Linked DNA regions of Homo sapiens: regions 1 and 3 are each linked to region 2. Evidence: promoter capture Hi-C in 16 types of primary human blood cells and fetal thymus (Javierre and others, 2016). All regions are on one chromosome and are shown on one strand. The core of a region is centred on a gene start or on the middle of the fragment in contact, and the rest is flanking DNA. Distances in the headings are between cores, read along the strand shown.

Region 1 (2,700 bases), core at 176-2,675, 680 kb after region 2:
AGTGTTGAATGTGTTTTCAATAAAGATAGAGTCTTTGATGGAAAGATTTCTCAAGCTCTGTAACAGCGGTGGGGTTGGCCTCAAATCCATTTACTCTGGATATTTGCCGTGGAGAGCAACTCTTCTTCTTATGGCCCTCTTTGAGTAGGAGTACACAAATGTTCACAGACCTTATTAGCCTAGTGGTACTTTTATCTACACCATCAGAGAATGCTTGGTGCCATGTGCATCCTTGGATCCCTTGCCCTCTTGCCATGGTCCAGGGTCCACAATCTGGAAGCCATTCCCTCAGCTCCTCTGTACTTCTGCAGAACTCCCAAGATCTCCATCGATGGAGGGAAATGTTTCTCCTCCTGGTACCATGTCACTAGCTACCTATCAGTTCTGTGAATGGAGTGTCTGAAATAGGACGAAGAGGGAGGATGGAACCAGGGAAAAGCCTGGGCTTAACTGCTTATTGAGGCATGTAGTGTATCTTTAAGTCATTTATGCATTTCAGTACTTACTAATCACATTGAATATTTAAATGCCTGACAAAAATCAATGTTGTTTTCCATGAAAACTTCCACTTGGCTAGTTTTTGTCATGTTGAGCAGTGTTGCCATGTTACCACAAACCATTCCTCTACTAATCGTGTTTTTTTTCTCAATAAGGATAACCTCAATAATCTACTTATTTTGGTTACAAACCAGAGTTAAGACTAACTGTTACATAACACTTGGCCTGACTTCCAAGAAAGCTAATGTTTTGCTTAAGCAAATGAAGTAATTTAATAAGTACTCGAAAATCTTGCTCTAATTTCATGTGGGAGGGCAGCTTAATCTTTTTTGCCCCATACTTCTGATGGTGTTTTTGATGACTACCCAAAAATCTAACCAAACTCATTTCTGATCTCTTCTACATGTTGTGTAACTTACGTGATGTCTTATCCTTTTAAATGCCAACGAAACTAAGTTGATTTTTGTCCATCAAATATATCTAATCCATTCACTATGAAATGATTGTAGTTCCTGTGAATTTAAACACTTCTTATACGCTGATACATACACCTTGGTGTCTTAAAGACAGATGAGCCCTTGGGGATTTCTTTACTGTATATGATTCTGTAGGGACTACATTTGGGGAGTGGAGACAATTTCCCAGGATGGCATACCAACTAGAAGCATATTACCAAAAGAAGCAAGTTTTTTTCATAGAAAAATATCTCCATTCAGGGTCAGCTCTGGTTTAACTAAGGCATCTCACAAAACATTGTTCTCTAAGAGCACTAAATTCCATCTTGCATGCCAGTTGAGAGTGGTATGTTAGCTGGGACTTGAAACTGGGTATGTGAGCTGAGTAATGGTATGAACTTACATGTTATTTAAAACAGCTACACTTCTTCTGGCTCACGCCTGTAATCCCAGCACTTTGGGAAGCCCAGGTGGGCGGATCACGAGGTCAAGAGATCGAGACCATCCTGGCCAACACGGTGAAACCCCGTCTCTACTAAAAATACAAAAAAATTAGCCGGGTGCAATGGCGGGCGCCTGTAGTCCCAGCTACTCGGGAGGCTGAGGCAGGAGAATGGCGTGAACCCAGGAGGCGGAGCTTGCAGTGAGCCAAGATTGCGGCACTGCACTCCAGCCTGGGCGACAGAGCAAGACTCCGTCTCAAAAAAATAAAAAAAAAAAAAAAACAGCTACACTTCTTCAGTAAGGGCTTGCCCATCCCCCTGCATACCTGATTTAAAGTACTCCTGCCCTGACCAGAGCATGGAGCCAGCCTTCAGGGATTCCAAAGTGCCGGATCCTACTAAGTCAAGGCTGTTGATACAGAGGTGAGATCGTTTCACAAACCTGTGTGACTCCAAGATGGTTTCCATTCTTTCCTGCTGCCTGGAGTTAAGAAAGGCTTTCCTTAAAAGGGAGCATTGAAGCCGAGTCCTAAGAGATAAAGAGCTGCGCAAGAAAGTAAGCAAGGAAGGGTATTCTAAGGATAAGGAAGATAATGTGCAAAGGGCTAAGAGAATGTGGCTCTTTAACTGAAACATTCAGTATGGCCAAAGATAAACAGGCCCTTTGGCACCCCCTACTTTGTTAGGCAGAGACAGCTTTATTTCATAGCAATGTATGAACAAACACCCTTGATCTTTCCCTAGGTGGGCAGCCAGGTTGGGCCATACAAATGGGGCAAATATGCTTTGCACATTACTTGGTAACACAAAAATGGAAACTAATGATTTGAGGGTCTTTTTAGGCCACATCAAGCTATCTAAAACCCAGCAGTAGCACAGAAAGGGCTGGGAGCAGCTTGATGATGAAGCTGGTATTCAGTTGGGTTGAGTCTAGGCACTGACCAGAGCATGGAACCAGCCTTCAGGAATTCCACAATGCTGGATCCTGCTAAGTCAAGGCTGTTGATACAGAAGTCAGACCTTTCCAGATTTCCTATAAAGAACAGGGCACGGCAAGTGCTGTAATACTTCAGGGGAAATCTCTTGCTATAATATGGAAGACTGACCAGAACAGGGGAGAAACAGCAGTAGGATGCTCACCACCTTAAGAGGCTACAGCAATCATTAGGGCACAAGATAGCAAGGGTTCAAAGTGAAGCGAAGGGGAGAGGAGGGACTGGATGTGGAAATGTGTGTAGCAAATTAATAGGATTTGGTAATTGTTTCGGTGTAGGAGGGGAAAAGAACTAAGAGACCTTAAGTTG
Region 2 (2,770 bases), core at 57-2,556:
ATAATCTTTTTACCTGTAATTTTTGTTTCCTAACTCTAAGCTAGCGTGTATATACAGTCCGTATTTACTTAGAACAATCTATGAAGATGTTCCTGAGACATCAACTAGGAATAGCAAATTAGACAAGGTAACTTAGGAAAATGCACCAAGTAATGTACTTACGTTCTGGTGCTACTACAGTTTGACAAATTGCATCATAATCTCCCTAATCTCTATATGTGGACGGCTACCATTTCCTAAGGGCAATGAGGCAGAAAGCAAGCAAGCAAATAACCCCTGCTCACAGCAGGAAAATGGGCGGCAGTGACAAAACCTACACTGATGTTTCCTATTCCAAGGCAACTCTTAACATTTGAGGTCAGGACAGCAAACCCAAAAAGCAGCAGATTGACAATCCTGAGTTTCAGTCCCACCTCCGCCGCTCCCTAAAAGCATGACTTGCAGAATGTTACATTAACTTTTGAGAACTCAGGTTCCTCATCTCTGAAACAAAAGGGTTTGATCGCTATATTATTTTTAAGGTCTCCACTAACATAGTACCCAGCCACGGTGCCACATACACACAATTTGGCTGTATCTGGTAAGCAGATTAAAAAGGAGAGTTGTTCTGATAACCTGCTGCAATTAAAGATTTAAGCCTCCAGGAAGTCGTGAGAGATGGCAATGAACACCAGTTGAAAGCTGCCAACACTGACAAGACCTTAGGGGAATTCCGAGGGCTATCTGTTGGAGCTGACTGGATCTAAACCATTCAAGAAGTGACCCCAGGGTTACCTGCCCACTGCATAAACTTAGGCCACTCAGGGATCAGAATTAGGATGAGAAAAAGGCAAATGGTATAAAAAGCCAGACTATACGGGACATGGGTGGCTTACACTTCCTCCAAGGTAGAGGCCTATGTGTGACCGGGATGGCCCTCGGCCCAGGCTTGGGGGTGTGGCATGTGTGACCGCCGGCCGTCACACAACCCGAAAGGACTCGCCACAGCCTGGGCCCAGCCCCGTCCCTCGCCTGCTGCAGGATGAGCGGCCACCTCGGAGCCCAGGGCCGGGCTGAGCCAGTGCAGAGGCGGGGCCAGGGGTGGTGCGGCCCAGGCGCCCGCCTCCGCCAGCCCAACACGGTTAAGCCGCGTACCGGACCCACTGAGCGGGACCTTCCGTGCCTCTGGCTCAACACGACCTCACCTACTCGGCCCTCACCTTGGCCAAGGAGCAGTACACACGACTCCAGCTCTGCATTTTTCCGCTGTATTTTCCTTTCCGCCAATACTTTCACCTCCGCTGGGCGCCTCCGCCGCTCCGCCAAGGTCTCCCCTCCCTGCGCATGCACAGGCGCAGCCTACGTCATCACCCGGGAGCAGCGCGATTGGCCCGCGCGGTTCTACCGCACGAGGCGTTCCTGTCAGGCTCGGCGTCGTACGCTGTCGTAAGGAGCGCAGGGCTTTGTCGCAGCGGGGGTGGTGGTGGGAATGCTTTAGGGGCTGGTGCCAAAATGTCGAGCTACAATGTATTCTTATACTTAGAAGATGAAATAAACAAATAAAACTAGCGTTTGCTTAATGCACATTATCGACAGTAAAGCGTGACAAGTTCAACAAGCTCTTGGTTGTGCTAGGCATTCCTCGGCACTTCCTACAGACATCTCATTTCATCCTTGCAACAACCATATGGAGTATTATTAGTATTTCCATTTCTTGGATGAGACCCAGAGAGGTTAAACAGTGCCCCCAAGGTCTCACAAAGGAGAGATAACTGCGGCCCTGAGGCCAAAACCTTTGGTATTATCTACTGCTTTATACTCGCTCCTCTCAAATGCCATATAAGGGATGGGGCTACAGATTTTGGCATCACCAGCATTCTGCTCTAATTAGCTAACTGACAATACGTAGAGAACACACTTTCTTCTATTTCTTTAGTTGAGAAACACATCTCCCTGGTAAAAAGAGAGTGGGATGGTGGATGAGATTTTAGGTTTTGAGAGAGAATCTGTTGAAAAGGGTTGAAAAACATTGTCTTCAAGATTGAGCACGAAAGTCTAAGGTCTCATTCTTGCCTTGCAATAAGTCTATATAGTGTGAATAAACTTAATTCTACATTTATTGGAAGTCTACCACCCAGGCCTTGTGCTGGGCTAAACACTGGTTAGAAATTACTGCCTATGTTCAGATTTAGATATGAATAATTAAATTTAGTGTTTGTTATAGAGACGGTATTGCTGGCAGCTCTGTCCTGTGACAGGGTCCCAGGCTCCTTTTATCTCGTGACTCTGCCATCATCAGAGCTTGCCTTGCATCTTTCATTCAAGATGGCTGCTCCAGTTTCTACAATCATATCCCCTCATTCCATCTGATTACAAAGCCACACCTAGCTGCAAGGGGATCTGTGAAACATAGTCCTGTCAGCTGAGTGCCTAACTGAAATTGTATTAATAAGCAAGATGAGATGAAGCGAAATTGGGGGACATTGAGCAGCCTCCACCACACAGATGGGGAGAATTGTCTCCTCTCCAGCTTCATGGCAGTCTTTGACATCTGGTCTAGGAGTTACTGCTCCATATGCACAAAATCTCACAATTCTTTCCTGAACTTTCTTGGGCTTTGTTCCCTACTCCTTTGTCCAAAATTACAATATCATATTTTTATTTTTAAAAAATGAAACACTTCCATCCTTTCCAGCTGTCATTCACAAAGCCTAGGGGCTCAACCCAGTATGAGAAGTGAGGCAGGAAATAGATTCCTTACTGCACTCACCATATTTCTCCACATTCCTCC
Region 3 (2,700 bases), core at 126-2,625, 700 kb after region 2:
ATGATCCTTACCCTTACATTCACAGAAAAACAAAGGAGACAAACACGCCAAAAGCTTGCTATAGTATCCAATCATAATTACGCTAACGCATGAACAAGGTCATGAATAAGAGAGGATGACTTAAAAATCTTTACAGAATTAGAATCAAATGAATATAAATAAAGGGAAGAAATAGAATAGTAAAAGACAACTTCATGGTTTTGAATCTGGTAATCAAGAAGGATGATAATAACAACTTTGAAAGAATAGGAGGAAAGTAAGCCAAGAAGAGGAAGAAAAAGGTAAGGGCAGTTTTGGTCACACTAAGCTTAGTTCAAAGAACTGACTGATATTCATGCAGAGATGTCTAACATGCAGCTGGAAATGTGCAGGTGAAGGCTATAGACATAGATTGGCAAATAACGAAATTACAAAATCTTCCCATTCTCAGGGCTGCAGGAGACCTTAAAACTAATCCAATCCCATTTTTCAGATCAGGAAGCCAATACTCAGAGGGGTTAACAATCTGCCTAAGATCAGTAACACAGATAATTGCTGGAGAAGCTATAAAGAGAGCCCAGGTTTCCTGACTCCAAGTCCAGAGTGCATTCCACAGGACATGATGGAGGTGCTGCTGACATTATCAGGAGAGAGGAACTGGTGAAGAAAGTGAAGGGGGCAAAATCTTGTCTAATATTCAGCACTGCGGGCAGTCAAGTACCAGGCCTAAAAGACTGAGAATCAGGATGCTGCCATGCTACACAAATCAAGGGAAGACAATGTCAGGAACTAACCCAATGTGTCAAATGTTGTACAGATGTCAAACAGAACAAACGACGTCTCTCTTCCTAGAAATCAGAATAAAGCTAGTAACCTTTGAGACAATTTTTGTAGAGTAGTAGAGGCCAAAGTTAGACTATTGTGAACTTCACTAAAGTGAAGAGTAAAGCAAGGGGACGAAACTGAAGGCAGCCAAGACAGGACAATTTTTCTCAAGAGACTTAATAGTGAGACATAGCAGGATCAAAACAAGAATTTGTACAAGCACACTTCACATGCCCATTTTCTTGCCTACAGGAGAGATGGAGAAATTAAAAATTTCAAAGTGAAAGGTGTCAACTTTATCCTAATATTGCTCGCTACTGCTTTTGCTCATCGACTTAGAAAATGCTAGTTTTAGTAACTTAATATGAAACAACTTATATAAAGTAACTTAATATAATTGGCTTTCAATAATCTACAGGGGAATTAATCACTTTGTAGATTACCTAAGGCAAGGCTTTGGTTAGTTTATTTATTCATTACATATAAATATATATATATTTTTTGAGACAGAGTCTCACTGTGTTGCCAGGCTAGAGTGCAGTGGCGCAATCTTGGCTCACTGCAAGCTCTGCCTCCTGGGTTCACACCATTCTCCTGCCTCAGCCTCCCAAGTAGTTGGGACTACAGGCGCCCACCACCACGCCCAGCTAATTTTTTTGTATTTTTAGTAGAGGTGGGGTTTCACCGCGTTAGCCAGGATGGTCGCGATCTCCTGACCTCGTGATCCACCCGCCTCAGCCTCCCAAAGTGCTGGGATTACAGGCATGAGCCACTGCGCCCGACCTCATTACATATTTTTAATACCAGTTTTCCCCATTGTAAAGTGTATAAAACACGAAGAAGCACCAAGAAATATACTATTTCCCATCCAAGAAAGCATGTTAGAAAGGCAAACCTAAAATCATTGCTCCTCCCCATCAGACTAAGCAATGAGTGGTCATAAAAATGCTCTACCTAAAATGTACGATGTCATTTAAATATCAAAGTGAATGGAGGATATTTCTGTAGATTAACAATAAATCTTGTTTCATTTGGAAAGATTTTGAAAAATTTTTTAAGAATTTTAAATCAACCTTGTGAATGCCCATTTGAAGATCTTCCTCATTATCACAGCCTTCAGCTCTAGCAAAATCTTCAACATCTTGCCATTCCTTATTGCTTCCCTTATGAAAGCACAGTCGTGTGCCTAAGGTTTAGGTAGAAAACACGTATTAGACACGTGACTGTACTAGACAAGTAAGCTGTGGAAAATTCAAGGTTTTTGTTTGTTTGTTTGTTTTACCTTTCAAAAAACAGTGCCAGACAGTTGAAGGCCAGGAATTGCACCATCCCAAATCATCATCATCTGACAGGGAGGACATGCAGAAAATGCCAGATTCTGACTCACTATTTGCCTATGGAGAAAAATATTATCAACTTTTTTATTTGTTTTTAAAATATACCTTTTAATATCTGTTTTCATCCCACGTCTTTAGGCCCATGCTTATAGGTGGATAACTTAGTAATTCTAACCTTAGGGAAAATATAATGCCTTCAAAAACTGAGGGTTGTCAGGCTGTGGGAGAATTTGCTAAAAAAAAAAAAAAAAGAAAAAAAAAGAAAAAAAAGACACACACAAAACAAAGTTTTTGGAAGCTTTAGTTATACGCACATTCCCATTAATAATAAGCTTTCCTAACACATAGCAGAGCTGTATATAAAATCAAATCCAGATCACTAACAGAACAGTGAGACTACTTCCTATGAGGAATGTTAATGTACTTCAACTGTTGTACAAACTTTGTAAAAGTTTAACCTCATAAATAAACTTACCCTTTCGTGTCTTACTGGTGTTTCCTCCTTCCAATGGTGATGAGGGAAGGCTGGTTCACTCTTCGAAGAAGAGGACACTGGTGG

What was found. Contacts are between HindIII fragments. The CHiCAGO score rates a contact against its expected background, and 5 or more counts as called.
Region 1: a contact is called between a fragment that was not itself captured here and the fragment with the promoter of DLD in region 2, in 1 of 17 cell types (non-activated CD4 T cells). The highest score is 7.4, in non-activated CD4 T cells.
Region 3: a fragment that was not itself captured here is called in contact with the fragment with the promoter of DLD in region 2 in 2 of 17 cell types (non-activated CD4 T cells and total CD4 T cells); the score reaches 6.0 in non-activated CD4 T cells.

What each region holds. Positions count from the first base shown.
Region 1 is chr7:107,204,933-107,207,632 of GRCh38, reverse strand. All of the region lies in intron 21 of COG5 (component of oligomeric golgi complex 5), which reads left to right. LOC124901720 (a long non-coding RNA gene) reads right to left here. Exons shown (of 2, transcript XR_007060471.1): 2 at 1-1,940. Among named protein-coding and RNA genes, the nearest start is that of HBP1, 37 kb to the right of the region's middle. The HindIII fragment of the contact is 5,186 bases long and covers 1-2,700 here.
Region 2 is chr7:107,889,719-107,892,488 of GRCh38, reverse strand. It overlaps DLD (dihydrolipoamide dehydrogenase), which reads right to left and starts at 1,306. Exons shown (of 14, transcript NM_000108.5): 1 at 1,200-1,306. The coding sequence starts at 1,238. RefSeq lists a silencer at 966-1,075 and enhancers at 1,136-1,375, 886-1,568, 1,526-1,605. The HindIII fragment of the contact is 5,175 bases long and covers 1-2,770 here.
Region 3 is chr7:107,185,859-107,188,558 of GRCh38, reverse strand. HBP1 (HMG-box transcription factor 1) reads right to left here. Exons shown (of 11, transcript NM_012257.4): 4 at 2,617-2,700; 5 at 2,087-2,198; 6 at 1,878-1,990. Among named protein-coding and RNA genes, the nearest start is that of HBP1, 18 kb to the right of the region's middle. The HindIII fragment of the contact is 2,132 bases long and covers 310-2,441 here.